Regions from separate parts of the Homo sapiens genome. Here regions 1, 2, 3, 4, 6 and 7 are each linked to region 5. Evidence: promoter capture Hi-C in 16 types of primary human blood cells and fetal thymus (Javierre and others, 2016). All regions are on one chromosome and are shown on one strand. The core of a region is centred on a gene start or on the middle of the fragment in contact, and the rest is flanking DNA. Distances in the headings are between cores, read along the strand shown.

Region 1 (3,834 bases), core at 1,207-3,706, 7.7 Mb before region 5:
CCGTATATTTGTCAATTTAATTGTATGTATTCTTATTAGTCAGACTAAACCTTTGAGAAATAAGGTGAAGCAAAATAAATGCAATGTTATGACCTTTACAGCTCTTTAGCTTACCTGCATGTTCATGTAGCCATCTACAGATACCAGATAGCCCTTGTACTCCATTCCCCACTTAAGTTTCACCATCACTGGCTTTCCTGTTAGTCCATTGAGGAAAGGTTTGGGATTGAGGGGTAAACTCTGCACAAAGAACAAAAAAGGATCTAATTAATTATTTTTCCTCCCACCACCAACTCTCTTCTACCGAATCACCAATATTTTGTGGTATGCAAATGAAGAAAACTTTTGACTCCTTATTATTTTAGTACATAATTTTCACTTTTATTTGTTGAGAGTACCAGGGAAATTTAAATATCCAGTTAGCCAATTTCACCTTTAACCCATCAAAACAAAACACTGACTATTCACTTAAGATACACTGACTACCTACATCACTCACTGTTCTGAGCTCTAAAGAAACAAAGATAAAGGCACTAAAAAAAAAAAAAAAAAAAAGCGGGCCAGGTAGGGTGGCTCGTATCTGTAATTCCAGTAATCTGGAAGGCCAAGGCCGGGGGATCACTTGAGGTCACGAGTTCAAGACCAGCCCAGGCAACATAGTGAGACCCCCATCTCTACCAAAAATAGTCAGGTGTGGTGGTGCACACCTGTAGTCCCAGCTACTAGGGAGGATGAGGTGGGAGGACTGCTTGAACCCAGGAGCTCGAGGCTGCAGTGAGCTATGATTAGGCCACTGCACTCCAGCCTGGGCAACAGAGCAAGACCTTGTCTCTTATAAATAAATAAATAAATGAGTCCCTGTCAAGAAGTTGGAGATGGGGAGGGGAACTCCTCACATACAAATAATTATATTGCATGCTGCACTGTAGTAAAAGGAGATATACTAGGCACAAGGGTACCAAAGCAATCCAGGGGAAAAAGGAAAGGTTGCCTGAAATAAGTAATACCTCAGTTTTAAAGGATAAGAGTTTATTTCCAGAGCGGGAAAAAATGCTGTTCCAGGCAAGGCTAGCTACTTATGTAAAAGGAGGGAAGAGTGATGCAACAAGGTGGTTTTGGGGACATACAATTCAGCATTGTCAGTCAAAGCCCCAAATATAAAACTACAGAAGGAAGCAGAGGGCAGATCACGCTTGACAGTATTTAACTGGGGAAGCTAGGGCTAGGTCCTATCTGACTTTGTCAGTAGCACCGCCTCTTACTTACAGCAATTACTTAATGTCTATTTATTCAGCAAACCATTAACATCTCCAGTGATTTCGGTTTTTGCCCTCTTCTGCTCACTCACCAGTCAAACAAAGAAGAGAACTAAGAAACTTGGCTACTAACCCCCTCTAACATGAGCATATTCGGAGTGATCTTGATATGGCGATTACTCCAATAACCTAATGGGTCTCCAGTTTTCATTCTCCAATTTGTTATCCACCACAGTAACTATGATTTTTTAAAGTGCACATCAGATTGTCATATTTCTGCTTAAAATGATCCAATGGCTTCCAACCGAATCATTTTAAATTGATTTGGAGTACAATCAAAACCTCCCAATACAGCCTAAGAGGTCCTGCCCAACGCCTGCTCCTCCGATACCATCTCTTAACCACTATTCGCGCAAGTGGCTATACCTTTCTGTCAATTTCTCCAAATGACCAAGCTTTCTTTCCGGCCGCAGGTCTTATGCTCCTATTCCCTGTGCTCGGTACACTCCTCCTCCTGCTCTTTAAAGGGTCGTATTTCATGACACTTAGGCTTCGAGTTAAATTCCACCTCCTAGGGAGGCCATCTCTGACTAAGCCTCTAATGTCTAACGCGCACCCTCACAGCCTCCTGTCTGCATTGTTCTTAGCACTTATTATTTGCAATTACATACTTGTTATTTTTTGACTAATGTCTGTCTTCCCCACCCAAGTGAGTTAATCTAGAGCATGGCCGTATCATTACTTTCACGGAATGAAAGTGAATTCTGGAGTGTGGTTAAGTGGGAAGTGCAAATTCTCTTTGACTTTTACCCCGACCCTATAGCCCCAACTAAGAATACCCCAGGCCCGGATTCAAACAAAGAGAAGAAGGCACGGGCACTCCTAGGAAAAGAAAGGCATCGGGAGGAGCACGCGCCTCAGAAACCTAAAAGCAGAGTGAAAGGAGCTGGCGACAGGGTGCGCGGCGCCTCACGCGGATGAATGGGAAACGCGCGAAGGAACCAGCAGGCCCCGCGAGGCTGGTCTCCCTCCTTCTCTTTCTCCCCGCTTCTCCCGCCGTTCTCTTTCTCCTTACCATCGTAACCACGGCCGAATGTTGCAGGCTACTCTCTGCCGACCAGGCCGCCGCCCGTCCCTCGTGACTACAGCAGGTACCGCAGGTCCCGAGCCGCAGTTTCAAGAGAAATGGCCGCCAAACAGGACTATGACCTTTCACCTCCCACCACGGCCCTTCCTGCCTCTGTGATTGGACGCAAAGAGGTGCGTGCTGATTGGAGGAGATGGCTGGCCCAGTATCTCCTAGCAACCAGCAGCGGCTTGGGTTTGCGCCTTGCAGGCGGCGCGCGGACCTTGGGAAACCGGCTCTGAGCATCGCTGTGAGGCAGCCAAGGACTGGAGGCAGGCCGGTGTTTTTAAATGTGGTGTCCTTCCTAGAGGGCGGTCTGGGAGAGGCTGTGTAACGGATGTGACTTCTCCCCAACTTGGCTAATGGGGATTTACTTTGTCTTTTTACACCCGTGAGAATGTTCGGGGTCCCAGAGTTCCTTCCTCACTCTTCCAACAGGTTCCATGATTTGGGGGCGCCTCTGCCGCAGGCCCTTTCTACCTGAGTGTTCTCTCTTCTGCAACACCCGTTTTAACCCCTTTTAAAGGAATTGGGGGCTAGCCAGACTAGACTAGGGGCGGCGAAACGCACTGAAGAGAGTTGGATACAGAATTTCTTGCAAACGAGGTCGAGTTGCGTCTGGGATACGGTGTCATGCCCCACCCCCGCCCCACGACCCTGCCGGCCCCACCTTTCTTTTGCTTCGCCTGCAGAAACCCGCACGGCCTTCATACGTGCATTTGAAATTACCTAAGGGCGTAAGCAATATTTCCTCTGTCACGGATTAAAACTTTCGATGTAACGGTGTTATCTGAATCTCACTAGTTTTTGTCGTAATCCTATTGAGTTCGGGTCACTCTGATCTGAAATGCTAAATGCAGTTCTTGGAGAACACGCCCTTTGGGAAGTAACGCTTTTTTGCGGCCCTGAAGAGATGGATTTGGAGTTGAGGATGAAATGTTGGGTGTTGAGGCATTGTGGAGCAGTGGGCAAGACTTTGGAGGGGGCCTGCATTCGGAACCTGCGTCTATCAGGCGCGGCCGGTGTTGGGCAGTGTCTTAACCCCGAGGGCCATTGTTTCCTCGGCAGGAACGCGGCTTTAAAAACGGAACCATCCTCAGGGTGGTTGCGAGAATTTAACGTAAAACGGGGCTTGGCCTTGTAAAAGCTCAGTGTTTCACGTAAATGTTGAACACTGACCAGACAATGATTGTCAGTGTAGTTTTTACCAAACAGTTATTAGATTTATTCACCCTAAACTTCAGTGGATTTCTCCGTTTGTCTATTGTTTTATGAACTTTAAGTCTTTGTATAGACTTTGAGTTCCTACTATGTGTCAGGCTTTTTCAACAATCGTGGAAATCTTACCTTACTGTCTGATTCGGGGTGACAGCCCCGTTTAAGAGATGAGGAAGTAGGCCCAGCAGGTAACTGTTACCAGTTGAGGGTAGCTGTCCGAGTTCTTGGCGTTTT
Region 2 (4,304 bases), core at 1,664-4,163, 5.3 Mb before region 5:
GCAGAGTGAGTAAAAGGCGCAAGGACTCCAGGTAAGAAAAAAAATAAAAGTGTTTGGGTACTCCAGCCTTTCCAAGAAAGAACTTGAAGTATCTGGGGCCAGGCACAGTGGCTCACGCCTGTAATCCCAACACTTTGGGAGGCCAAGGTGGGCAGATCACCTGAGGTCAAGGAGTTCGAGACCAGCCTGACTAACATGGTGAAACTTTGTCTCTACTAAAAATACAAAATTAGCCAGGCGTGGTCAGCTACTCGGGAGACTGAGGCAGGAGAATTGCTCGAACCCAGGAGGCGGAGTTTGCAGTGAGCTGAGATCATGCTATTGCACTCCAGCCTGTGCAAGAGCGAAACTCTGTCTCAAAAAAATAAATAAAAATAAAGTATTTGGGTTTTCCAAGGTGCATAGTTTATAAAGGGGGGGTGGTGGTGGTGAAGTGATGAAATATGAAATGATTTGTTTAAAATTAACTTTTCTTAATCAAAATGCTTACATTTTAAAGCATATTTTCCTTTTTTAGAATACCTGCAAATTCAAGAGCCAAAATTGTTTTTCTTTTTTTGTTGTTGTTGTTTTGTTTTGTTTTTGAGACGGAGTCTTGCTCTGTCTCCCAGGCTGGAGTGCAGTGGTGCGATCTCTGCTCACTGCAAGCTCCGCCTCCCAGGTTCACGCCATTCTCCTGCCTCAGCCTCCCAAGTAGCTGGGACTACAGGCCCCCACCACGCCTGGCTAATTTTTTTGTATTTTTAGTAGAGACGGGGTTCGCCGTGTTAGCCAGGATGGTCTCGATCTCCTGACCTCGTGATCCACCTGCCTCGGCCTCCCAAAGTGCTGGGATTACAGGTGTGAGCCACCGTGCTCAGCTATAAACTGCTTTTTTAAAAGCTTGTGAAAGATTCTCCTATGTTCAAAAAAGGGTATTCTTTTAATATAAAGAAAAAAATTTAAAAGTAGCTCAATATAGTTAAAAGCAAGTTTTGAATGCACCTTGGTCAATGCCAAGAATCAAAGTCTCAACAGAGCCTCTTGTTCCTGTGATATAGAACTGTAACCTATCCTGCCTTCCCTATCTCCATGCCTTTACCATGTCCTCAGTATGGAATTCCAGCCCCATTTTGTTCAAATACCCCTCATCCTTAAAAGTCAAATATTCGCCAGGCGCAGTGGCTCATGCCTGTAATCCCAGCACTTTGGGAGGCCAGGGCAGGTGGATCACTTGAGGTCAGGAGTTCAAGACCAGCCTGGCCAACATGGTGAAACCCCCTCTCTATTAAAAATACAAAAAATTAGCCGGGTGTGGTGGTGCATGCCTGTAATCCCAGCTACTCGGGAGGCTAAGACAGGAGAATCACTTGAACCCGGGAGGCAGAAGTTGCCGTGAGACAAGATCGTGCCATTGCACTCCAGCCTGGGCGAGAGTGAGACTTCATCTCAAAAAAAAAAAGGTCAAACACTCTTCTTCCATGAAATCCTTTTTACTCTCCCTGCCCCCAAGGTTCTTCACAGAAGAAAGAGTTGTCTATCTCAGCTCATTGCAACCTCCGCCTCCCATGTTCAAGCAATTCTCCTACCTCAGTCCCTCGAGTAGCTGAGATTACAGGCGCCCACCATGTCCGGCTAATTTTTGTATTTTTGGTAGAGACAGGGTTTCACTATATTGGCCAGGCTGGTCCTGAACTCCTGACCTTGGGTGATCAGCCCAGCCCGCCTTGGCCTCCCAAAGTGCTGGGATTACCAGTGTGAGCCACTGCACCTGGCCATATTTTATTTTCTTGTTTGACATCACTGGGACCTTCCTAATTATGCATGGATTGGGTTAATATTAAAAGAAGTTTATAAAGCTAGGCATGGTAGCTCACGCCTGTAATCTCAACACTTTGGGAGGCCAACACTGCTCAAGGCCAGGAGTTTGAGACCAGCCTGGGCAACACAGTGAGATATTATCTTTAAAAACTATTTTTAAAAATTAACTGGGCATGGTGGCATGCACCTATAATCCCAGCTACTCAGGTGGCTGAAGCTGAAGGATCACTTGAACCTAGGAGGGTGAGGCTGCAATGAACTATGATTGTGCCACTGAATTCTAGCCTGGGCAACAGAGCAAAATCGTTTCTAAAAAAATTAAAACTGGTGGGGTGTGGTGGCTCACTCCTGTAATCTCAGCGCTTTGCGAGGCCAAGGCAGCAGGATCGCTTGATCCAGCAGTTCAAGACCAGCCTGGGCAACATAGTTGGGTCATATAGTGAGACCCCATCTCTATTAAAAAAAAATTAATAATAAAAAATATAAATTAAAAAAAAACAATTTTGTATCTCTGAATATAAACCAACTAGATGATATACATTTTCACTGAAAGAAACATGACTGGGTGACAGAATTAAGTGTTCTGAAATATGCAGACAAGAAAACTCAAGACAACAGTATTTTAGTTAACAAGAAACTCAGTAAAATTTCTACTCTGTGTTTACACAGACATTTGTTTGTGCCCTCATGACACACTTATCACATTCTGCCTCATATTCTGGGCATTCTTAGTGTTGCTAGATGTCTGTTTCACCTACAAGTCTAAATAAGTTCCTTAAGGCCAGGAACTGTACCTTGTTCATTACTGTGTCCCCTATAGTGCCTACACATTAAAAAGTGATTGCCGAACTGCCTCTCAAATGTTTCTGCATAACTGATGTTTGAAAAATTCATAAGGACTGGGCATGGTGGCTCACGCCTGTAATACCAGAACTTTGGGAGGCTGAGGCAGGTGGATCACTTGAACCCAGGAGTTCAAGACCAGCCTGGGCAACATGGCAAAACTCCATCTCTACAAAGAAATACAAAACATAGGCCAAGCGTAGTGGCTCACGTCTGTAATCCCAGCACTTTGGGAGGCTGAGGTGGGTAGATCACCTGAGGTCAGGAGATCGAGACCAGCCTGATCAACATGGTGGAACCCCATCTCTACTAAAAATACAAAATTAGCCGGGCATGGTGGTACATGCCTATAATCCCAGCTACTTGGGAGGCTGAGGCAGGAAAATCACTTGAATCTGGGAGGCGGAGGTTGCAGTGGGCCAAGATCATGCCATTGCACTCCAGCCTGGGCAACAAGAGTGAAACTCCATCTCAAAAATAAATAAATAAATAAATAACCAGACATGGTAGTACACATCTGTAGTCTTGCTTACTTGGGAGACTGAGATAGCAGGATCACCTGAGCCCAGGGAGGTCGAAGCTGCAGTGGGCCAAGACTGCACCACTGCACTCCAGCCTGGGCAACAGAGTGAGACTTCACCTTGAAAAAAAAATAAGGAAACATTCATTACCTGATATTTTACCAATGGAAGTAATTCTGGATATAGAAGTAGCAGAAGCTCTAAATATATAATTAGGACCAATGCCAAAGTTAACAGCAATTAAGCTCAATGTGCCAAAAGAATTTCAATTAACAATAATTTCTGTAATTTATGAGTTATTCTTGTTACATATATATATTTAATTGCATTTTGAAAGAGCTATGAAAGCTAAAAGTTGTCCCATCTTCAAATGCTCAGTATTTTACCTTGCTACAGAAAAGGAAGTACAGTAGAAAGTATACAGGACAAAGTAAGGTGGGAGATCCAGATTTTGGTCACAGTTTTTGTTTACCAAATATGTGACCCTGGGTGAACTTATGAGGGCCACAGAACTCAAGTTTCTTTACCTTCATAAAGAGGATAATACTACATGGGCTACCAAAATCAAAGCTGTTATAAGGATCAAATGGCTTAACATGCTTTGAAAACTGTGAAGTGTTCTACACTCCCGGGCTGACTGACCATTTGGGAAATTTTAAAATATTCCTTCTAGAATATAAGGAAGGCTTTTTATTTTTGCTCACTGAACTTTCTTCCTTAATCATGATTTCGCTTTGCCTCCAATCTTACTGTCCTTCCCTTTTTTATTAAACATCAATAATAACAGTAATGAAACTTTCTTTAATTTTAATTTTTTATTTTTGAGACAGGGTCTCACTCTGTCTCCCAGGCTGGAGTACAATGGCACAATCACAGCCTCGAACTCCTGGGCTCAAGCAATCTTCCTACCTCAGCCTCCTGAGTAAGCTGGCTCCCTCCTGGGACCACAGGCGTGTACCACCTCGCCCAGCTAATTTTTGTAACTTTTGTAGAAATGAGGTTTCCTATGTTGCCCAGCCTGGTCTCAAACTTCAGAGCCTGCTTCAGCCTGCCAAAGTGCTGGTATTACAGGTGTGAGCCACCCTGCCCAGCCCTTTACTTTCAATAATAGTAGCAACAGGAACTTTGCAGTATAAGGGA
Region 3 (4,217 bases), core at 1,359-3,858, 7.9 Mb before region 5:
AGTCCCTGCTTGCTAACTCTAGGCGCAGCTCTCTCTCTTCAGGGTCCTTTCTACTTTTTAATCTTATCAACTTTCTTCTAATAATTTAAGAACGGATGGGACGTTCAAATTTTCTAAGGATGATTCAATACGCTTTTTTAATAGTTGGTTCCAAGGAGCCAAGTAGTTATTTCACTTAGAAAACACATACTTCTACAAACTCTATAACCATTGGAATGAAGAAAGGTTGTAGATTCATGGAATATTATTCAATGATTTTATCTGTATCATAACCTATATTTAATGTTCTTGCTCAAATTGCCCAATAGTATTTGGTTTATACCTTTCATCTGAAGGTACCTTTCACCTGAAGAATTTCATAGAAGATCATTTTAAAAATAAGAGGGTCATGAAAAGACAGCCAAATTCGGCTTCTTCACCAGGGCAGGATGCTACATGTGTATTTTACACAGTGTAGCATGGTGAAATCTACTAAAGCACATCAATAAGCAATCAGATCAGATCGGGCAGATAAGAATTGGTGGCTTTCAGGCCTCTTTTTCCTACTTGTGTAGGAAGGATCTGAATTTTGATTTCATTAATATGAACTAATAAGTACTTACTTTCTTACTCTTCATCCCTCAACATTTTGCTAAACTGATTGATTTGAAAAATAGGTCGATTCCTCTATGTACTGATAGGTAATCAACAAAAGTACCATAAGAAAGAAAATTAAGATATTATAAGCAGGAAGGCATCTATTTCCTTGCAGATCGCACTTTGGTCTTCTTGAAGTACCATGCTATCTTTAATTGCAGTAGCAACTTTGCCTGGGCAGGGCTGAAGTCCTATTTCAATGCAGTTTCAAAACTAAACACCGCATGTTCTCACTCATAAGTGAGAGTTGAACAATGAGAACACATGGACACAGGGAGGGGAACATCACACACCAGGGCCTGTTGGGGGTAGGGGCCTAGGGGAGGGATAGCATTAGGAGAAATACCTAATGTAGCTGACGGGTTGATGGGTGCAGCAAACCACCATGGCATGTGTATACTTATGTAACAAACCTGCACGTTCTGCACATGTACCCCAGAACTTAAAGTATAATAATAAAAAAAGAAAAACCACACTGTGAGACTGCCATATTTGAACATGAGTTTATACGTCCTACATTCAAAAGTACTAGAGATTTAAAAATTAAGCAATTCAGGACACTTGTGTTCAGATGTGAATAATTGCAAACCAAAACCGAGGTCGCTAGTGGAAGAAATTTAAAGAGGTTTTTCTAATATATGAACAGCAAATTCTTCCTTGAATCTTTAGCTGCAACATATATTTCAGAAGAAATATTCCAATTGGTTTAAGATATAATAAAACCTTGACTAAGCCCCAAACCCACTCAAAGCTCTTAGTTAACTGGAAAGTTCTTGTTCTTCACCTTTATTTAAAAAAATTAAATTATAAACTATGCTGATAAAAGTAAAAGAATGAAAATTTTTATAGCTTTTTGCTGCTTAATGTGACCTCACACTTACCTTTGTTTTGTAAAATAAAAACTTAAAAAATTTATTATTTGAAGTTCAGGTGTACTTCAAATGTGCAGGTTTGTTACATAGGTAAACTTGTGTCATGAGGGTTTGTTGTACAGATTATTTTGTCACCCAGGTATTAAGCCTAGTACCCATTAGTTACTTTTCCTGATCCTTTCCCTTCTCCTACCCTCCACCCTCCAGTAAGCCCCAGTGTGTGTTCCCCACTGTGTATCCATGTGTTCTCATCACTTTTGTAGAATAAAAACTTTATCTCTGTTCTATAAGTAAGCAAGAGTCAGGATGTTTAAATTTTGAAAAGAATGTCCCAATCTAAAAATCTGCTCATTGTTTTTACATTCCCCAAATCTAGAGAAAAGTAAGATTTTAAAATAGTGATTTCTGGTTGGCATGTCTGTTTAGCAAATTAGAGCCTGGAATTATAATAATGTTACATGTTATACAAGGAAGGCAATTTATGGTACAAAATAACATGTTTATAATTGTTTGCTTATTTATGACAAAAGCCTTAGACCAGGAGCTTATCCTTATTAATTAGTTAATTAGTATTTATTTAAAGTTAACTTGTTTCTTTCCTCCACTAGATTGTGGACTCTTGAATGTAGAGACTGTGTTTCATAACTCTTTGTATCTCAGCTTCCTAGTATAGTCTATGTCTGGCATGTAGAGGACATTCAAAAGTTTGATTAATGGATGATTTCAATTAGAAAACAGTGCCTAAGCTTAACATGGGCTACATTGATAATAGTGCCAGCTGTATTTCAGAGGTGAGATGGGAAGACCCAGTGCCAGTGCGGAATCAGGAGAGACGTCATGTCTTCTTTTCCTCTCCGTTCTTAGAGTTTGTGATGTTGAGGAATGCTGAAGGAGACTTAATCGGACAAATTCTAAGCTTTCTAAAATTCTTTTCAAGTTTTGGGTTATTTACACTGAAGTTTGATCCTCCAAATTTATGATAACTTTCATACATTTGTTTCTTTTCACTGAAACCTTCAGAAATGTTTAGGTGTTCTTTTGGTTAGTGGCTCAAGAGGTTTTAGTGCCATGGCCAAGGCAGAAGCCAGCAGTTAACAATAGGTAATTCTGACTGCAAACCATCTTGTTTTCACTAAGTAAATGTCTCAACTGGGAATCAAATCAAGGTGGTTTTTTAGTTTTAGCTTTGTGTTTCACACATAAACCTATTTTTTTTCATCATATCCCTGCACATAGCAAGTAGAAAATGTAAATTTAGACATCATAATGAGGCATAAAGCTTTTTTTAAAAAAACTCTGCTTTGTTCTAGAAAGGACTGAGACTGCTTGAAGCAACATATATAGTATAAGATTAAAAATAATTAAATAATTTGCAGGAAGAGAGAATAGGGATAGGAGAAACAAAACCCATGGCATAAAGCCCTCTATACTTTAAAAGAAGTGGGCCACAGGGTTGACATGGAGCTTCCTACCAGCCTGTGCAAAAAAGGAATCAGATACCTATTCCATGTCAACTGACCAGCTACTGAGAAGTACAACTGCTTTTTAGGGGGATGGAGGGTATTGTTCAAAGAGGATACTGTGAAACATATAAATTATATCCTATAATTAGTAGAGCTGTTGATGCTTAACACGTTTCTTAAAAAGTACTAAATCCAACTTGTCAACAATCCAGTTTTCTTTATTTTTCTTTCTTATTACAGTTTTTGACTATTTTTTAAAAATAACATCGCTGAAATTTGAAGGGGAATTTTAAAAAGTAGTTTGCAAATGATAGTTGAGACTTAGGACTTGAGATAATACAGCTTAAACATTGCATTTTTTGTTTTCTCTTGGTCTAGGACCTGCTTCATGCATTAATTGACACCTAGTGTTTTTGAGGCAGAGTGCTAAACCCTGGGAATACAGACCTAAGTAACATTCTCTGTTTTAGAACCCTTAGTCTAATGGAAAAAGAAATCATTATAATGCAGTACAGTAAGTATTATAGGAAAGGGTAGGGCCAAGAGCTATAACAGACACAGGGGATATCAAAACGTTTCACAAAAAATAGTTGTCACTATGACACTTCTGATTCTGAACAGATTTGGAAAGTTTAGCCAATATAGAAAACAGAATATGTTCCACTGGGAAATGACCCAGTTAATTCATCTATATAAGCATGTGTTATAAACACAAGATACTCAAATCAAGTTTTTAAAACAAGTTAGCTATTCTGAATAGCTATTCAGAACTAGGTACTAGACTATGAAGAGACTAGAGAGGTACTAGAATATGAAGGAGTAACCCTATTATTTTAAATAAGATATAAACCGTATCTTCTACTAATTTAGAGTAAGGATAACAAATGAGGTACCCCCAAAAGAAAGTACCCAGGGGCAGCTGGGAAATGGCTGGTTCTTGGCCTCACATGTAGCCAGGTCAGATTTCAGAAAAGGAAAAAAATAATGCCAGAGGTAGGGAGATCTGGTAGAAAGCAGTTCTGCCAGTCCAGGGCCTGACCTGGGTTAGTAGTGGAAAGAAAGGAAAAGTATGAAGACATTGTGAAAGAACAACTTTTAAGTGGCTGTGTGGGGTTGGGAAATGGGATCAAACCTTAGGTAACTGGAAGAGTTCTTTTAACAGAATCAAGAAATCTGGGGAGAAATCTGATTCAGGGAGTATAAAAATCATTTTTGGAATTTTTAGAAGCCTATTCAATGTGTGGTG
Region 4 (3,870 bases), core at 835-3,334, 5.2 Mb before region 5:
CCAGTGTTAAAAGGATTAAATGTATAACAAGTTTTCTTCTGGCAGCGCCTGGCACATTGTAAGCACTCAATTAAGAATATCATTACACAATATTGAGGAAACCAGACAAGATCCTTGATCTATCTTGATCCCTTTTGGCTATCATTTCTTTTATATTTAAAGTTTACTACTTTGCCTCAACATGGCCCCTTTCCGCTAAGGCTTTATCTTTTTTACAGAACACACTTAATGCTTGTTGACTTGTTCATTTTGTAAAAGTTAATAACCTTTCCCTTTGCAGTTTCTAGCTCTCCTAAGCAGACCCATCTCAAAGGCTGGGGCCGTATTTCTCTGCACACTCGTTTGGGATTCAAGTCTAATACGTAAAGGTTATGAGTGAGCACAGAGCAACCCATTTAAAGGGCTTGGTTTCTTTTCAAAAAAAAATAAAGGCAAAACAAGGGTTTGAAGGGCAAATTTCGAGAACTTTTCGTTAACATAACAAGAACTAAGCCACTGAGTGTATTCTGTGTCATATTCATCACAACTACAGGGACTAGCAGTAAGGAAGCCATTAAATTCCCATCTCCAGCCTTAGCCTAGTATTTTATACACGGTTGGTTATGAAAGCAGAACTCAGAATGTTAATTTTTTTCACCTATGTAATTTATCTTAAGAGTGGCAATACCAAAAGGCTACTATTGCCCTAAGCAAACTTCAACAGTTAGCCATTTTAAATAAATACTACTGAATTAAGTAAAAATCGCTCTCCAGGGAAACCCCAAGGGTCTCATTCTCAGCCCAATGCAGATGGGTAAATTATCCAAGAACGACTGCTCTGAGAACGAGAAAGGCTACTCCTTTCCAGATGTCAAGCCAGACAGCAAAGAACCCTTTATACATAAGCTGAGAGCTGGAGATTACTGTCTGAAAATGGCAGCTTTGCCCATCTCTAGTCCATCGTCTCCCTTTTGGCATTATTCCACATTTTTCACTAACCATTTTTCTGCAGTCAGAAAACTTTAAGAAGGGAAGGCCGTTTTAAAAATGAGGCATAATTATGCCAACAGCTTGCGGGTTCATGGACCCACAAGAATTGCCAAGACTAGACTCAATTCCAAGCACGAGGACTGTCTGTTACTCCACAAACATGCTTAGATCGAATCCGAGACCGCAAACGGCTGTAACATGGAAGGAAAATATGTAAAAGAGGCACAAGGGCTCTGCTGCAACACTCACGCCATTTCCACCCTCCTCTCGCTGAGCACTCGAGGTTTATCCGGCTTTCAACTCAATTCGCACGTTAAGATGGTGACTCCCGCTAGGCGAGACTTACGCGGCCCGGGACCTTCCCGGGGACCAGGCGCCTTCTCGAGTGCCCAGATGGAGAAACTGGGGCTGGGCGAGCCCCCTTTGTCTCATCTATCAGCCCAGAGAAAGGAAGGAAGAAGTGAGGGAGGAAAGGAGTGAGGGAGGAAAGGAGGGAGGGAGGAAGGGGGCTAATCCCTCCCAGCCCCGCAGCCTGCGCAGGGGCGGGGAGCGAGGGGAAGCACCCGGGCCCTAGACCCCGGCGCCCCGGAGGGCAGCGTGCGGCGCCGGGCGCCCTACCTCGTCCTCCTGCTCGCTCCGGAAGCACAGGCACGCCGCCCGCTTCTTGAAGCCCTCGCGGTCGTAGGTCCGCGTCTGGTTGGGCTTGAACTTCATCATAGAGGCGGGCTCCTGCTGCTGCTGCTGCTGCTCCGGCCGCCGCCGTGGGGGCCCGGCCGCCGCCACCCCGCCGGGGAGTGGGGGCGAGGGCGAGTCGGGCGCAGGAGCGCCCGGGAGCGCTAGTCGGTGCGGGAGGTGCGGCGAGGCCGGTCAGTCCCGGGGCCGGCGGCCGCTCCGACGCGGGCGGGACGGGACGCTAGCGCGGGTCACTGGAACCAGGGTGCCGAGATGAAAGCTCCGCCTCTGCCCAGTTGTCCGCCGCTCTCCATGGAGCCCGACTCCCGCTCGCCTCCGCTCCCTCCGGCCGTAGCCGCCAGGGGAAGGGCGGCTAGAGGCGCGCGCCACGCGGAGACAGTTGCGAAGACCCGCTCCCACTGAGCAGCAGCACCGCGGCGACCGCGCGCCGCCCCCTCTGCTCTGTTTAAATGAAGCCCACATGCGCCCCGCCTCCCCCGCGCGCCACTGCGCCTGCGTGCAGAGACCATTGCAATGGGGTGGGTGGGTAGGTGTGGCGGGGGAGGTAGGGGCGGGACCTCGGCCGCCCGGTGGGCGGGGCCGCGCGCACTCCCGGGCTGGAGTTCGGCGAGGCCTTGGGACTGGCGCTGGAGCCCAGCGTGGGATGACCGTGCCCCGAAAACATGCCAGTGAATGGAAAGAAGCCAAGGTCCCCTCCCTCCCTGCTTATACCCTCAACTTTGCCAATGAGGACCCTAAATACCAGCTGCACTACAGGGGATGTAACTACATACACCGTCACCAAAGTTGCAGCCTGGCCAAGAAATGCCAGGGGACGTCGCGGCGATTGCAGACTCCGCGGTGACTGTGTAGATACGTCCAGAATTCGCCCTTGTAGCGCGGGGAGAGGCGAGAGTGAAGGCCTAGAAAAGTTAAGACGTTAACTGTTTTTTTTTTCTTTGTTTTCACAAATGGGGGGTAGGCAAATTTCCTTTTTTTTTTTTTGTATTTAAATTTTTAATCTTTGGTTGGGGATGGCTTGTATTATTTAAAGAGTCAACTCTAGCTTAAACGTTTCTTTGAAGCTGTCTATAACATCCCCCACTTTGTGCCACCTTCCGGAAAGTATTAATACTGGCAATGGCTAATAGTTGCGAAATGGTTTTCATGTGGATCTCATGCTAAGTAACAGCGCAGCTGGATGCTGGGGCCACAGCACTAAAATATAATGGGATTTCTGCTATCTGGGAGCTTACAGTACCTTGGGGACTTGGAACAAACAACCTCTACACTTCAGAGTGTTAGAAGGGCTAAGATAGGAGCCAGGAGGCCTGATCTTAAGGTAGCTCGAGAAACCCAAACTCAGGCCATTCTGCCCTTCCACAGAGGCCCAGGTTGCTTGGGTCCTGACTTGGTTGGTTGGTTTTTCACCCCTTGAGGGCCTATTGTGTGTCAGGCACTGGCATCTAACAAAACCAGTCAGCCCCTGCCTCTCCAGGAGCGTAGGCACCTGAGAGCACACCGTCAAATATTAAATGATCACACGTGTACACGTAAAACTACAAATGTAATGGGCTCTAAGGTTTCAGACAAAGATTTGACCAGATCTGCAGTCAGAAAAAGATTATTGGGGCAGCAAGGCAGGAGCTGAGGGCTGAAGGAGGAGGAGCTAAATTGACCAAGAGCTTTCAAGGCAAAGGGAACTGGGATTTCTGCAGAGCCCAAAGTGGGAGGGAGTGAGGAGAGTTCTCAGAAATGAAAGAAAAGGCCAGTGTGGCTGCAGAGCGGAGGCAAGCTGGTTCCGCCTCTGGCAGAGGGGCCTGTGAGGCCTGACTGAGAGGCTGGGGACCACTGGAGAGCTCAGAGCAGGCACTGGTCTTTCTAGTCTCCAACCTCCTTTAGATTTGGGACTGCTGCATCTAACTCATCTTGTTACTCCCAGAGCCCAGCAGATGTAAGTTTGTAGAATGGGTTAGTGTTGAATAAATAATTTAAGGAATGAGGCTTCACCACAATTAGAAATCTTATCAAGACTGCGCAGAGATGTTTTCCAAGCCATTGATTTCTTATTGAAGGCACTTGAAATTTAACTATGTCCAGGATTTACAAACACAGGCAGAAAACATCTAGCTGGGGAGTCCGCTATGGCTAATATGTGATTATTATTTTTGGATAATTGGTTCACATCAATAAAGTTATTAATCCTGGCTTGGTTGCACAGGCTAGAGT
Region 5 (3,794 bases), core at 1,295-3,794:
AGATCTAGGTTACAATCTTAGCTTCATCAATTATTACTTAACTTCTATGAACTTGTTCTCACTTCTGAAAAATTAGAATAAAATTTACCATTAGAGACCAGGCACCTTGAGTTTATGAATGTGAGCAAGAGGGTGGTGGCAGAAGGGTAGAAAAGAGTAATACAGACAAACGAAACTTGTAAGTGAATACATAAAAATAAGTTATAACGAATGAAAAAAAAAACAGAAGAAAAGGTGTTAGAGAAAACAGACTTCTATTATGAAAACAAACACGCAGTAGTCAGCATAGTGTATGACATAACATGTGCTCAGTAACTATTAAATTTCATTCCTACCATTGTCAGAGGTATTTGAATCACAACAACTCCATCTTGAATAGGGGCTGGGTAAAATAAGGGTGAGACCTACTGGGCTGCATTCTCAGGATGTCTGTCAGTCATTCTAAGTCACAGGATGAGATAGGAGGTGGGCACAAGATACTGATCATAAAGACTTTGCTGATAAAACAGCATGCAGTAAAGAAGCCAGCCAAATCCCACCAAATCCAAGATGGCGAGAAAGGTGGGACGTCTGCTCGTTCTCACTGCTCATTATACACTAATTATAATGCATTAGCATCCTAAAAGACACTCCCACCAGTGCTATGACAGTTTACAGATGCCATGGCAATGTGAAGAAGTTACTCTATATAGTCTAAAAAGGGGAGGAACACTCAGATCTAGGAATGGCCTACCCTCTTCCCAGAAAACTCATGAATAACCCACCCCTTGTTTAGCATATAATCAAGAAATAACTATAACAATCCTTAGTCTACCACCTCCAATGGGGGTGTATGCACCTCCAATTCTTTCTTGGCGAGATCCAGGAGCCCTCTCCTGGGGTCCAGATCAGAACACCTTTCCAGAAACACCATCCCATGTTAAATTATGAATTAAGAACACTGAACATGAAGAATGTTTAATTCAAATTATTGAGTAAACACTTACAAAATTAAAATATAACATTTAATAAAAATAGCAAGATTGAGGAACAAGCACTTCACAAATATTGGTTTCCCAGAATGTCTGAGGAGGTGTATAGAAGTTAAGAATATGTCCTCCAGCCAGAGAGATCTGTGTTCAATCACACTATTTAAGTTACTTAGCTTCTCCAAGCCTCAGTTTCTTAACTCAGATGGAAAATGAGGACAATGTAAGCACCTATTTCACTGGATTGTAAGGAAGAATAAACAAGATAATGAATAGTATTTGGCATATAATCTTTCAGAAAAGTAGTAAAATTGTCATTCCTATAAATCTAACTAATGTCTTTAAAATTCATCTCACAAAATCAGTATCTTTTTATTTTGTACTGAGCTACTTATTTTACCCAAATTGGGGGTTTAAAAAGAAACTCATTACTTATTTTCGAAAGGAAAATTTACTGTCAAGTACAGTAATTTTTTTTTTAAAGCAGCGTTTAAAAAAAAAAAAAGACAAAGCACTGGTCCAGATAGTTGGAAATGTCATTTAGATTTAAGTCTACAGCTTCTTAGGAAAGTTAGGTAGAGATGTATCATACTCCAGCATGATTGTGAGCAGACGAGCAGGATGAGCAAAACTTGCACGAGTAAGAGTGGTAAACACCAGAGAAGGCGCTTTCATGGAAGGGCACCCTAGGTAACCAAGCAAGTGGCAACAATAGTACAGGTGAGTCCTTGGATCCCTTCTCTCTCCACCCCCGGCAGTGGTCCGGACAAGTACTAACCTCTCCTCTCTAGAGCCTTGACTTTATACTAGCTCCACAACCATCAAGCCCCACGATCCGCGAAAGGAATGGTGCTACAGGTAAGGCGGGCGGGGTCGGGATGCCGAGACCTCTTGTCAATTCTTCGCTCGCCCCCAAACGAGGATCACGGCTGCGCGGCTCTCACTCTAACTATCAAGACAGATTCTGATACTAAACAAGGCTAAAACTTTTTGTTTTTTCCTTCTTACAGAAGGCACTACCCTGGACGCCGCTTGCAAACGCCTGAAGAGAAGGCAGGGTGTTCCCACTTTTTCAGAATGGGACCAGGCCCTACGGCCCCAATAGCAGAAGCTTCTCTAACCCAGGACTGCTCCCCTCAATTCCTCCCAATATGCTGACCGACAGCTCGACCTCACCTGGGGGCGGTTCCGCCAGGGGATGGCTTAGGAAAACCTCAGGAAGAGCAGCCCAGCGAGTGACGCCACTGAAACCACAGTCATGGTCTACCTCGTTCAGGCCACCAGTTTGCAGGCGCCTGAGCCGCTGCTCCTCCCGCCTCTCGGTCCTTCCCCGCCGCCCCGGTACCGTCGCAGTCTTACGCGTTGCATGCCGGGAGCGCCTTACCTCCTCTTCTCAGGGACTTCAGTTCCCAGCATGCAGAAGCCTCAGGCAGAACTGCACTCTGGGATTTGAAGTCCTCGTTCCACGCCTTCTCATCATCCTGAACACCGAGCTCTGGGACTCCGGCGGAGAATCTAAACGTAAAGCATCACCCACGGTCGTGAACTGTAGGCTCTCCTGGCATCCGGGATCTTATTCTGGCCTTGGCGGAGTTGGGGATGGTGTCGCCTAGCAGCCGCTGCCGCTTTGGCTTGCTCGGGACCATTTGGCTGGACCCAGAGTCCGCGTGGAACCGCGATAGGGATCTGTCAGGGCCCGCGGCCGGGTCCAGCTTGGTGGTTGCGGTAGTGAGAGGCCTCCGCTGGTTGCCAGGCTTGGTCTAGGTGGGTGGATCCTTGTAAGCAGGATTAGCGAGTCACTCCACGCTCAGGTTCTTTAGCCTGAGGGCCCGTGTGCCACAGCATAGCTACCCCGCCCTTCCAGCCTCGGGTCCCTAATACTGCCTTGCTTCGGTTCCAGTTTCCGCCGCACAACTTCACTCATTCCAAATGTTAATTTCTGCGTTTTTTTTCAGCCCCAATTCTGTTTCTCCAAATCAGGGATGATTGTCGGCCTTCCACAGACCCTCGCGCTTGCCAGGATTAGGGTGTTCGCGCGCATTGTGGGTAGGGGTGTGGAGGAAGGGATCCAGAAATCTTAAGTATTAACTTAGATTAGTGTTAGCAAGGAAGCCGTCACATTTTATTTAGCCGGGACACTCTGACAGTTTGTGCCGACTGCTATTTTTGATCAAGGCTATTTTGCCCACTTGTCTATTTTGTGGCCCAATTGTCTGTTTTGCTAACATCAGAAAGTTATAATGAAATAATCTGCAAAAAATGTAAGGTGCTAGAAAACCAATAATACTGTGTACCTTGAAAATGCTAATATACACCTGTTTTGTTACAGAGGTGGAGCACAGTGAAAGAATTCAAGATGCCACCTAATATAAACTGGAAAGAAATAATGAAAGTTGACCCAGATGACCTGCCCCGTCAAGAAGAACTGGCAGATAATTTATTGATTTCCTTATCCAAGGTGCTTAATTGGTCAATAATAATAGATATATACATTAACTTATGATTAATTTATTAATAAAATATGAATTTATTTTTTTCAGGGACAACTATAATTGTCACAATCTGGAAGTGTTCTTATATTTTGCTTGAAGGTTATAAAATATAAAACAGTTGCTTTTCTGTTTACTTAGGTGGAAGTAAATGAGCTAAAAAGTGAAAAGCAAGAAAATGTGATACACCTTTTCAGAATTACTCAGTCACTAATGAAGGTTTGTATGTAGTAGGTTTTAACTATAGGTTTGGCTATTAGTGGAACTATAAAAATCTGTTCTTATATAAGGTAATCTTTGTGAAAATACCTGGTAATATCTACATCACCACTAAAAA
Region 6 (4,093 bases), core at 342-2,841, 7.1 Mb before region 5:
GCCGCGGGGCGGCGGGACGGAATGTGGGCGCTGCGGGGGCTTTTCTCTCCTACCCGAACTGTGGGAACAATGGACTGAAAGGGGAAGATGGATTGAGGGGCCGAGCGGGGAAGCGAGCTGCACCGGGGAATCATGACTTCTGCAGCCGGTAAGTGACGGCGCTCGCGCTGCCGCGGGAAAGTTTGTGGCGAGCGCTGCTAGGCTTGGGCTCGCGAGCAACTTTCTTCGCCGGGGTGGGCGAGTTGTGTGCCCCGTACCTTTGCCGAGCACCTCGGCAAGCGCGGAGCTAATGGGATTCGCTGCCGGCTTTCTCGTCTTTTCCTGCCCAGAGGGGCTGTTTGGAAACCCGGGATTTCTCGGGATCTCCCTTCCAAGGGGGACTGTGCTGGGGGCTCTGCACCAGGTGAAATGCGATGTGTGAAGGGCGTTCGCTCATCTCTCCAGCAGTGCGAGGACTTCGCCTTTGCATGTGAAAATAGTGTAGATTCCCAAGTTAATAGATCAGTTATTATAGGTAAAGGCAGTGTTCTCAGCGTGTTCAATTTGGCCACTAAGTGAGTCGCTTTCAACCTTGTATCTGCTGGTAAACCTTTTACCCATTTTAAAGAGGCGTAGACATTGTCATGTCCTGGTGGTTTTACCTCTGTTACCTGAGAAGCAGAGGAGTTGAGATTGTTGAGGTTTTTTTTTTTTTTTTTTTTTTGCTTGTCTGCACCCAATTACAATTATTTTGTTTGTTTCTACCTGATTAGGGTAAACAAAGCTTTATTTTCTGTCTGCCTCCCATAGTTCTTTCCCCTTCATCCAAATGACAAAGCCTCTATCTTTGTGTGGATTTTCAGCAATTCTAGACGTTGTGTTTCTGAACATTCTTAAGGAACAATTTCTGTTTTACAAAATAATTACCAAAGTGGTGTTACGTTCACTTCGTAAGTACATAGGTTAATTTTTAAACCAGAACTTATGTATTAAGTAGAGTGTTATGGGTTATTTTACGTTTTTGTCCACGTTGAAACTTTCATTAGAAATTTTATAGTGAAATAGTTTAAAGCTTCTTCTCAAGGTTACTTCCAGAATCAGCACTTAAGTATCAGATTAAATTTTCATTGCTTTTCTTGGCATTTGTTTAAAATTCTTGCAACTTGAAACTGTCCAACAGCACTCAAATGTTCTGATTTGTATTATTTCTAAAGCCTAGATATATTGTAGTGTTGCATTGCTCCCTGTGATCAGATTACAACAAACGAAACAAGAAGTTAGCCAATAGGAAAAGAAAGCAAGAAGTGGGTGTTGTGTGGGTCTTTCCTTTTTGATGTTATATGCACTTATATGAGATATCTTTATAAACTCTCTTTTCTTTGCCAAAGGGAGGCTTTATACTTACATAAGGTAAATTATTTTCATCCTACATTTCTGTGCCTTACCTTCGTTCAAGAAATTGATTTAAATTAAAAGTGGTTGGAAATTTTAAAATCCTTCCAGCCAGTTTTAGCTCTTTCCTTTTTGGAGGTGTCAAATGTATTTAAAATAACCGTGTCTTATATGTATCAGTTTTCAATTCCAGTCTTAACAGTTTATAAGGAACAGGCACAGAAGCATGTAATTTCACATTTATGTAAACCCAATTTCTAGGGCCCAGACTGGAAGTTCATGATTCTTGCATTTGAATTATCCTAAAATAATGCAAGCTATTTTTGTATTTTATCAACTTTACAATTAAAGAAATCCACAGAAATTTTTGTGGTGTTTAAAGTGGGACACTTCCTGTGTCTAGCCGAGTTGGTTGGTTTTTAGCATTGCTGGCTGAGAAGCATCAACTACTTTTTTGCTCACCCATCTGTTGGATTTATCATAATTCTTTCTGGTGTCTAGATGGGGAATATGGAAGAGAACTGGGGTTTTATTTCTACCCATTCTTATATGTATACATAGTTCTTACAAGCTGATTATGGTGCTTTTTGGGAACAATAGTCAAATTCATTGAAACGTTTAGGAAAGTTACTTGAAGTTAAGGGAGGGGATTTTTGCTTTTGAATCTAATCTGTGGTATTTGGAAGGGTTGGTTTAATTTAAGAAAATAAAAGGAATGTTGTAGAACATCTAGGTTATATGTATCCAGCAGAAAAGCTTGCTTTGTTTTTCTACATCTATAAAATAATCTGCCCTTAGTGGAGATTTCAGAATTATTTTAAGCTGTATATGAAAAAGGAGAGGCTGGGCGCAGTGGCTCAAGCCTGTAATTCCATCACTTTGGGAGGCCAAGGCGGGTGGATCACTTGAGGTCAGGAGTTTGAGACCAGCCTGGCCAACATGGCAAAACCCTGTCTCTACTAAAAATACAAAAATTAGCCAGGTGTGGTGGGGTGCGCCTGTAGTCCCAGCTATTCGGGAGGCTGATATGAAAATTGCTTGAGCCAGCGAGGCGGAGGTTGTGGTGAGCCGAGATCGAGCCACTGCACTCTAGCCTGGGTGACAGAGCAAGACTCCATCTCAAAAAAAAAAAAAAAAAAAGAAAAAAGGAGAGAGAATTATAGGTATATATAGGTATATATTTTGTGTCCTTTTGAACATGTACAGGTCACTGTCTTCATTGTCTGTGCTTTGCGTTTTGGCTGGTCCAGTAGCCAGAGAGTGTACACGTGAACCACAGCCATCTGTGTGTAACAGATGACGAGTATGTTTGTAATAGTTAGTAAAATGGTACTAGTGCTTTACTTTCTTACCTTATATTTCCCTGGAGCCAAACAGCTGTGTAAATAAAAGATTTGCTGCTTTGCTCTAAGAAGCTTTGGGTCTGACTGTTGATGCAGTATTAAGATCCAAAGGTGCTAGATTTATTGCCAAATGTCATGCACTTATTTCACATTGGAGTAGACCATAATATAATGGCTTATTATTTTTTGAGTTGTGTTTCTTCCAAAATAGAGCCATGAAAAAAAAATAATGAAGGATTTTGGATATTGCTCTACCAGTGACTTAGTTGAACACTTGTTCCTATTAATAATTAAGGAATTTTTCAATAATCGTATTGAAATTGATTCCTGCTAACTTTTCAAAATATTATTCTACATTAAAATGGATGTACATTTTTGAATGTGATTATTTTTAAAGAAGAAATTTTCTGTTATGGAGACATATTAAAGAGTATGTGTATGTGGCAGCTGTGATTATTCCCAGGCCCTGTTGTTAGCACTGGGATACATCAGTGAATGAGACAAAGTGCCTGCCCTTCTGGAGCTTGTGTCTTATGCTGAACACAGACAAAGGTGAACTGAAAAAACATCAACGCAGGAGACAGAGGCCACAGTACATGAGGTTCTTCTGAAATGAGTGTCTCAGAAGTTATCATCTCAGATTCCTATGGGCTTTAGAGGCCTGTTCAACTCCCCCATTTATAAGGAAGGAAAGTGAGGCAGCCAGGTCTGTACAAGGCCCACAATTAGGTTAGCCAGCTCCCTGAGTTATGTCTGTGACTTCCTTCAATACACAGTTAACTAACAATGGCAAGCCCAAGTTCACAGTTATTAATTGAATTCAGTGAGTATGCGTTGAGGGTTTTATGTACGTAATAGGACTTTGCTATATTTATTGGGAATCAACTCCAGCACATACGTAGTTAATTGAATTTCTGTGACACTAGAACAGGAATTTATATCTCTTGGAAGCAGATTTGTGTACAAAACGCATTTTTTAAAAAGAGTAAAATTGGTACCAGGGATTTTTTAAAAATGATATTTAAATGACCCTAAAGCTTCTGACAAGGTTCTAAGATACGGAAAGTAAAAGATTAATTTGATGAGAGATGAAGTTTTCTTCCAACTGTGGTAAAATAGCACATAAGATAAATTTACCGTCTTACTCATTTTTAAGTGTATAGTTCAGAAGTGTTAAGTACATTCACATGGTACATCCAATCTCAAGAACTCTTCATTTTACGAAACTATTTTTTTTGTTTTCATGGAGACGGAGTCTTACTGTGTTGCCCAGGCTGGTCTCCAATTCCTGAGCTCAAGCAATCCTCCCACCTTGCCCTCCCAAGGTGCTGGGATTACAGGCATGAGCCACTATGCCAGGCTGCCAAAACTAATTTTTA
Region 7 (3,861 bases), core at 39-2,538, 7.8 Mb before region 5:
AATCAGAAATCTGCCGTAAGAATAAAATAACCACAGGCCACCCTGACAAAGGTGGTCTTCTGGCCTCCCTTTAAGAAGCACTGGGGAGGACCTCAACCCCTTCTGATGGTTGGACAGTGATATTTTACCAGCAGAGGCAGGACCCTGATGCGTTCCAATGGGGTGTTCCTCTCTGAGCTCTTTGGACGGAATGACAACCCCAAGCAGCAGAGCGTGTTAGCAACAGGTACCCCAAAGGCTGGCTTGCCCGTGTATCTCTGTGCAGGGACGCTTTCACGGCGTTGTTTCCCTCCAGAGTGCACAGTGAGAGGAAGAGCGGCCAGCTCCGCCCGTGGCGGTCCCCACCCTGCGCGCCCGGCCACTTACTTGCCCACCACCAGGCTGGCGCCTTCCAGCACCGCCAGGCTGCGCAGCGCATCCCGCGCCAGGAAGCGCTCGCCGCGGGCGCACACCAGCACCACTTGCTGCGCGTTCTCCAGCAGGAGGCTGTGGCCGCTTGCCATGTCGCCTCGCGCCGAGGGTCGCCGGGAGGCCACCGGGCTCGGGCCACCGGCAGGACTCAGTGGAGGACGAAAAGCCGCAGCCTGCGCTGTCCGGGGCTGGGAGGGTGGGGCGGGGGCGGGCGCTCGCAGCCGCTGCCCTTTGCTCGCCTCCCCCAACCACAGCAACGGGGGCGGTAATCATTGCAAGAATGGCAACGAGTAATAAACCTGATGAGGAATCCTCTCTTTTTTGGTCGTCTTGTCCCATCCCGAGTAAACGAGATGGAGACTAGTGTCCCTACTTTTCAGATAAGGAAACTTAAGCTTGGTCACCCCGAGAGATCAAAGTGAGCTGTGTGGATCACGTGGTATGTGGAAGCGCGTCAAGGGTTGGCTGGGTGAGGGCACCCGGAGTGTTCGGGAGTGAGGGACCGGAACCTGGGGTAGAGCCCCGGAAGGGGGGCCATGGGGGAAACCTCTGCCCGGGGGGTTGGGGTGGGAGCCTGGAGATAGCGCTCCTGGAGAGGGCAGAGTAGGGGAAAGCTGTGCCCAGGGGCAGGGACGGGAGCTTGGAGGTAGAGCCCCGGGAGAGGACAGAGTGGGGGAAACCTCTGCCTAGGGTGCTGGGACGCGAGCCTGGAGGCAGAGCCCCGGGAGGGTACTGCGTGGAGGAAACATCTGCCCACAGGTTCTGGGGCGGGAGCCCGGGACGCGGAGGGCCGCGAGCCGAGGGAACCTGGGGGTGGGGAGGAGGGGGATGCGGTAGGGGAGGTGCTCCTGGGTCCGCGCGGGTGGCGGGTGCCCCGCACTTATCCGTTGGCCAGCTGCGTTCCGGGATCAGCTACCAGACGGTCCCTGAGATGACCGGGAACCGGGCTGGGGGAGGATAGAGCCGAGACTGGAGGATCGATTGGCACCTCCGCCCACTTTTCCCACAACGCCTTCCCGAACGATAGGTTGGAAAGGCTCCTGGATCCAAACTCGCTGAGGTAAAATAGGTTTCAGCTCAGTGTCCGCCCCTCCGCATGCCCCCTCCCACCCCTCAGCTGTGTCTGGTGGGCCTACAAGCAACTTGCGACCAAAATTGGAGACAGAATCAAGTTTATGGAAGATGGTCTGTGATTCTCAGCCTCGTCGCTTCCTGCTACCAATTGCTATGGAAACACTGCCAGGCCCAGGCTTTTGAGTCCTTAATTACTTGATTTCGTTTATTCATGTTTATCACAAGCTCTGTGTTAAGTCTTGTGGAACATACAAAGATAGGAAAGGCGCTTTCCCTGCCCAGTAAAGACTTTACAATAAAAGTGATAGATGTGGACACAAATAATATACTATAAAAGCAGACTAAGCCTGCAAACCCACAAAATATAAAAGTTAATTTAGTCTCATTAAAAAAACCTGGAACAGAAAGCAAACACTCCTTTAGATGACCACGATAAATAAGAATATAATTTAGCTTCATATTATGGCCTATAAAAGAGAGATCAGTTAGGAAAGAGAAAGATAAAAATTGGAAAATATATAGACAATGTGAGTGAAAGAGACCCTAAGGGTGGGGGGGAGGGGGCATCAGAAGATTATTCACAGCTCATATACACAATCACAAACAGGTTGTTTGTGTGTGTGTGTGCATAGCTTTTAAAAAGTTTATACATACATATATTTCTATGTCTTTAAAAAGAGAAGTAGAAATAGTGGGGAATAGAAACACATAAAGTCACTAATTCACAGAGAAATATTAAAATTTTCTATTATAAAATTTCTGCTGAAGACTTTAATCAGTTACATTTTGCAATTTTAGGCATATTTGCAGAACTATGCAATTGTATGTATAAAGGATGGGTTAAAATTATAGAAAAATAGGGTTCAATAAACTTGTCTTAGTCTGAGTTCTGTTTCCTATAAGCTGTTTGACCTTGGGGAATTTCTTTACAGTAATTTCTCGAAGCCTCGTTTTCTCATCCTCATCATAGGGAGAGCTGTTTCTACTTTATGGGCTTGTCTGAGTTTTAAATAAAATAAAACATAAATCACTTAGCCCAGTGCCCAGCTCTAAACAAGTAATAGGTATTATTACTATTATTCGTGTGTTTTAATCCTGCTATTTGTCTTCCTGGCCAATTAAGTTAAAGATTAGATTTCAGCCAATAGTATAGTTCCTCTCCTGACTTCACAGACCATGTACTTAAAGCTTGCAAGTTCTGGGTGAGTCTAAAAGAAATTATATTTCTTTTTCATAGGTATTTATGTTTGTGGGTGAACTGTGCATCTGATTCACAGTCCAGACAGACAACATTACCTGATAAGCTCCTGCAAACAGGAGGTTTGCAAAAGCAGAAAGGATGAGTGAATTTCTTTCCTTAGTTACTGTTCAGTAGTTATAGATGGATAAGGATGACACATTTTTCCTTGGTAATAACCAACATCCCGATAGCAGCTCTTATAAAATACTTTTCACATTATCTGACTTGTATATGCTGACTCCTTAACCCATCCTTCCTTCCTCTTGACCTCCAGTTTTTTTTTTTGTTTGTTTGTTTGTTTTTTTTCACTTCGCAAAAGGGGCAGTCAGAAATGTCAACAGAAGCGTCCATACTAAATAGCCTGACGCCAGCAGTGCCTTAAAGGTCAAGGTGAAAGTAATTTCCTCATCATTGTGCTGTGCTCTGACCTAGTCAGAAGCGGCAGCGTGCATCTAAGCAGGCCAAGGACCCAGTGGCTCCTGGCTTTTAGGTAAACAAAAAATTGCTAACTGTGATCTCCCCACACCATCCAAGGACACAGTTCACAGCCCCTTTTCCTAGTATTTGTCCAAGGTAGGCGGAGAGGAGGTGGGAAAAAAAAATGGAAGGGCATTGGGTCTGAGAGAACCAGTCTAAATCCTCATATGCATGTGAAGATAAACATTGCTTTTTATCTCACATTGAGATCATCTGGAAATTCGTTTTCATTGGGTTTTAGAGGGGGTTGTTGCAAAAAAACAAATAAACTGATTCGAATAATATCTGGTAGACAGTGTTATTATTCATTTTATTTAGAGTTGGTTTAGAAACTTAGGACTGGGCCTTATCAAATCCCACTCCTCTTTCCCCACTTCCCCTGGAGCTCAGAATGTTAAGACTCTACATGAAGCTGATTCAGGTCCCCCAGATTTGCACTGATATTGCTGGTAGACTCCTCTCCAATGACCAGGTTTCAAGAACTTTGATTGGGAGTTTCTTACAAAAAGTAGTTGTCAGTTATGCTCCCATTTCAAATGGCGGCAGTTGACAGAGTGGGCCAGAAAGAGGAAGGATCTGGACAATATCTAGTTTGAAAAAAGTATAAGGGATCACTTCTTCACAAGCCTACTATGAGCAGGCACTTTGCATATATTATC

Evidence for each region. Contacts are between HindIII fragments. The CHiCAGO score rates a contact against its expected background, and 5 or more counts as called.
Region 1: the fragment with the promoter of SNRPF here is called in contact with the fragment with the promoter of CEP290 in region 5 in 6 of 17 cell types (non-activated CD4 T cells, total CD4 T cells, naive CD4 T cells and 3 more); the score reaches 15.8 in non-activated CD4 T cells.
Region 2: a fragment that was not itself captured here is called in contact with the fragment with the promoter of CEP290 in region 5 in 1 of 17 cell types (non-activated CD4 T cells); the score reaches 5.2 in non-activated CD4 T cells.
Region 3: a contact is called between a fragment that was not itself captured here and the fragment with the promoter of CEP290 in region 5, in 1 of 17 cell types (total CD4 T cells). The highest score is 5.2, in total CD4 T cells.
Region 4: a contact is called between the fragment with the promoter of NUDT4 here and the fragment with the promoter of CEP290 in region 5, in 2 of 17 cell types (non-activated CD4 T cells and naive CD8 T cells). The highest score is 6.7, in non-activated CD4 T cells.
Region 6: a contact is called between a fragment that was not itself captured here and the fragment with the promoter of CEP290 in region 5, in 1 of 17 cell types (non-activated CD4 T cells). The highest score is 5.0, in non-activated CD4 T cells.
Region 7: the fragment with the promoter of CCDC38 here is called in contact with the fragment with the promoter of CEP290 in region 5 in 4 of 17 cell types (non-activated CD4 T cells, naive CD8 T cells, fetal thymus and 1 more); the score reaches 10.3 in non-activated CD4 T cells.

What each region holds. Positions count from the first base shown.
Region 1 is chr12:95,857,574-95,861,407 of GRCh38, reverse strand. It overlaps SNRPF (small nuclear ribonucleoprotein polypeptide F), which reads right to left and starts at 2,456. Exons shown (of 4, transcript NM_003095.5): 1 at 2,332-2,456; 2 at 115-240. The coding sequence starts at 2,334. SNRPF-DT (SNRPF divergent transcript) reads left to right here and starts at 2,569. Exons shown (of 3, transcript NR_135014.1): 1 at 2,569-2,654. RefSeq lists enhancers at 2,134-2,183, 2,214-2,443, 2,564-2,623, 2,674-2,733, 2,132-2,747. The HindIII fragment of the contact is 4,587 bases long and covers 1,714-3,834 here.
Region 2 is chr12:93,472,261-93,476,564 of GRCh38, reverse strand. All of the region lies in intron 2 of MRPL42 (mitochondrial ribosomal protein L42), which reads right to left. Among named protein-coding and RNA genes, the nearest start is that of MRPL42, 6.9 kb to the right of the region's middle. The HindIII fragment of the contact is 4,058 bases long and covers 885-4,304 here.
Region 3 is chr12:96,030,445-96,034,661 of GRCh38, reverse strand. The region is part of intron 1 of LTA4H (leukotriene A4 hydrolase); the gene reads left to right. Among named protein-coding and RNA genes, the nearest start is that of LTA4H, 3.0 kb to the left of the region's middle. RefSeq lists an enhancer at 1,611-1,780. The HindIII fragment of the contact is 363 bases long and covers 2,427-2,789 here.
Region 4 is chr12:93,376,139-93,380,008 of GRCh38, reverse strand. It overlaps NUDT4 (nudix hydrolase 4), which reads right to left and starts at 2,084. Exons shown (of 5, transcript NM_019094.6): 1 at 1,588-2,084. The coding sequence starts at 1,686. It overlaps LOC643339 (a long non-coding RNA gene), which reads left to right and starts at 2,273. Exons shown (of 5, transcript NR_040096.1): 1 at 2,273-2,572. RefSeq lists silencers at 1,453-1,752, 1,973-2,312 and an enhancer at 1,549-2,488. The HindIII fragment of the contact is 6,665 bases long and covers 1-3,870 here.
Region 5 is chr12:88,140,838-88,144,631 of GRCh38, reverse strand. It overlaps CEP290 (centrosomal protein 290), which reads left to right and starts at 2,544. Exons shown (of 54, transcript NM_025114.4): 1 at 2,544-2,732; 2 at 3,298-3,426; 3 at 3,599-3,676. The coding sequence starts at 3,325. It overlaps TMTC3 (transmembrane O-mannosyltransferase targeting cadherins 3), which reads right to left and starts at 2,325. Exons shown (of 14, transcript NM_181783.4): 1 at 2,145-2,325. RefSeq lists enhancers at 1,955-2,458, 2,265-2,704. The HindIII fragment of the contact is 8,380 bases long and covers 2,082-3,794 here.
Region 6 is chr12:95,213,280-95,217,372 of GRCh38, reverse strand. It overlaps FGD6 (FYVE, RhoGEF and PH domain containing 6), which reads left to right. Exons shown (of 21, transcript NM_018351.4): 1 at 1-148. The coding sequence starts at 133. Among named protein-coding and RNA genes, the nearest start is that of FGD6, 2.1 kb to the left of the region's middle. RefSeq lists a silencer at 1-47 and enhancers at 1-242, 3,324-3,403. The HindIII fragment of the contact is 1,076 bases long and covers 1,054-2,129 here.
Region 7 is chr12:95,940,041-95,943,901 of GRCh38, reverse strand. It overlaps CCDC38 (coiled-coil domain containing 38), which reads left to right and starts at 1,288. Exons shown (of 16, transcript NM_182496.3): 1 at 1,288-1,471. AMDHD1 (amidohydrolase domain containing 1) reads right to left here and starts at 571. Exons shown (of 9, transcript NM_152435.3): 1 at 367-571. The coding sequence starts at 503. The HindIII fragment of the contact is 1,867 bases long and covers 809-2,675 here.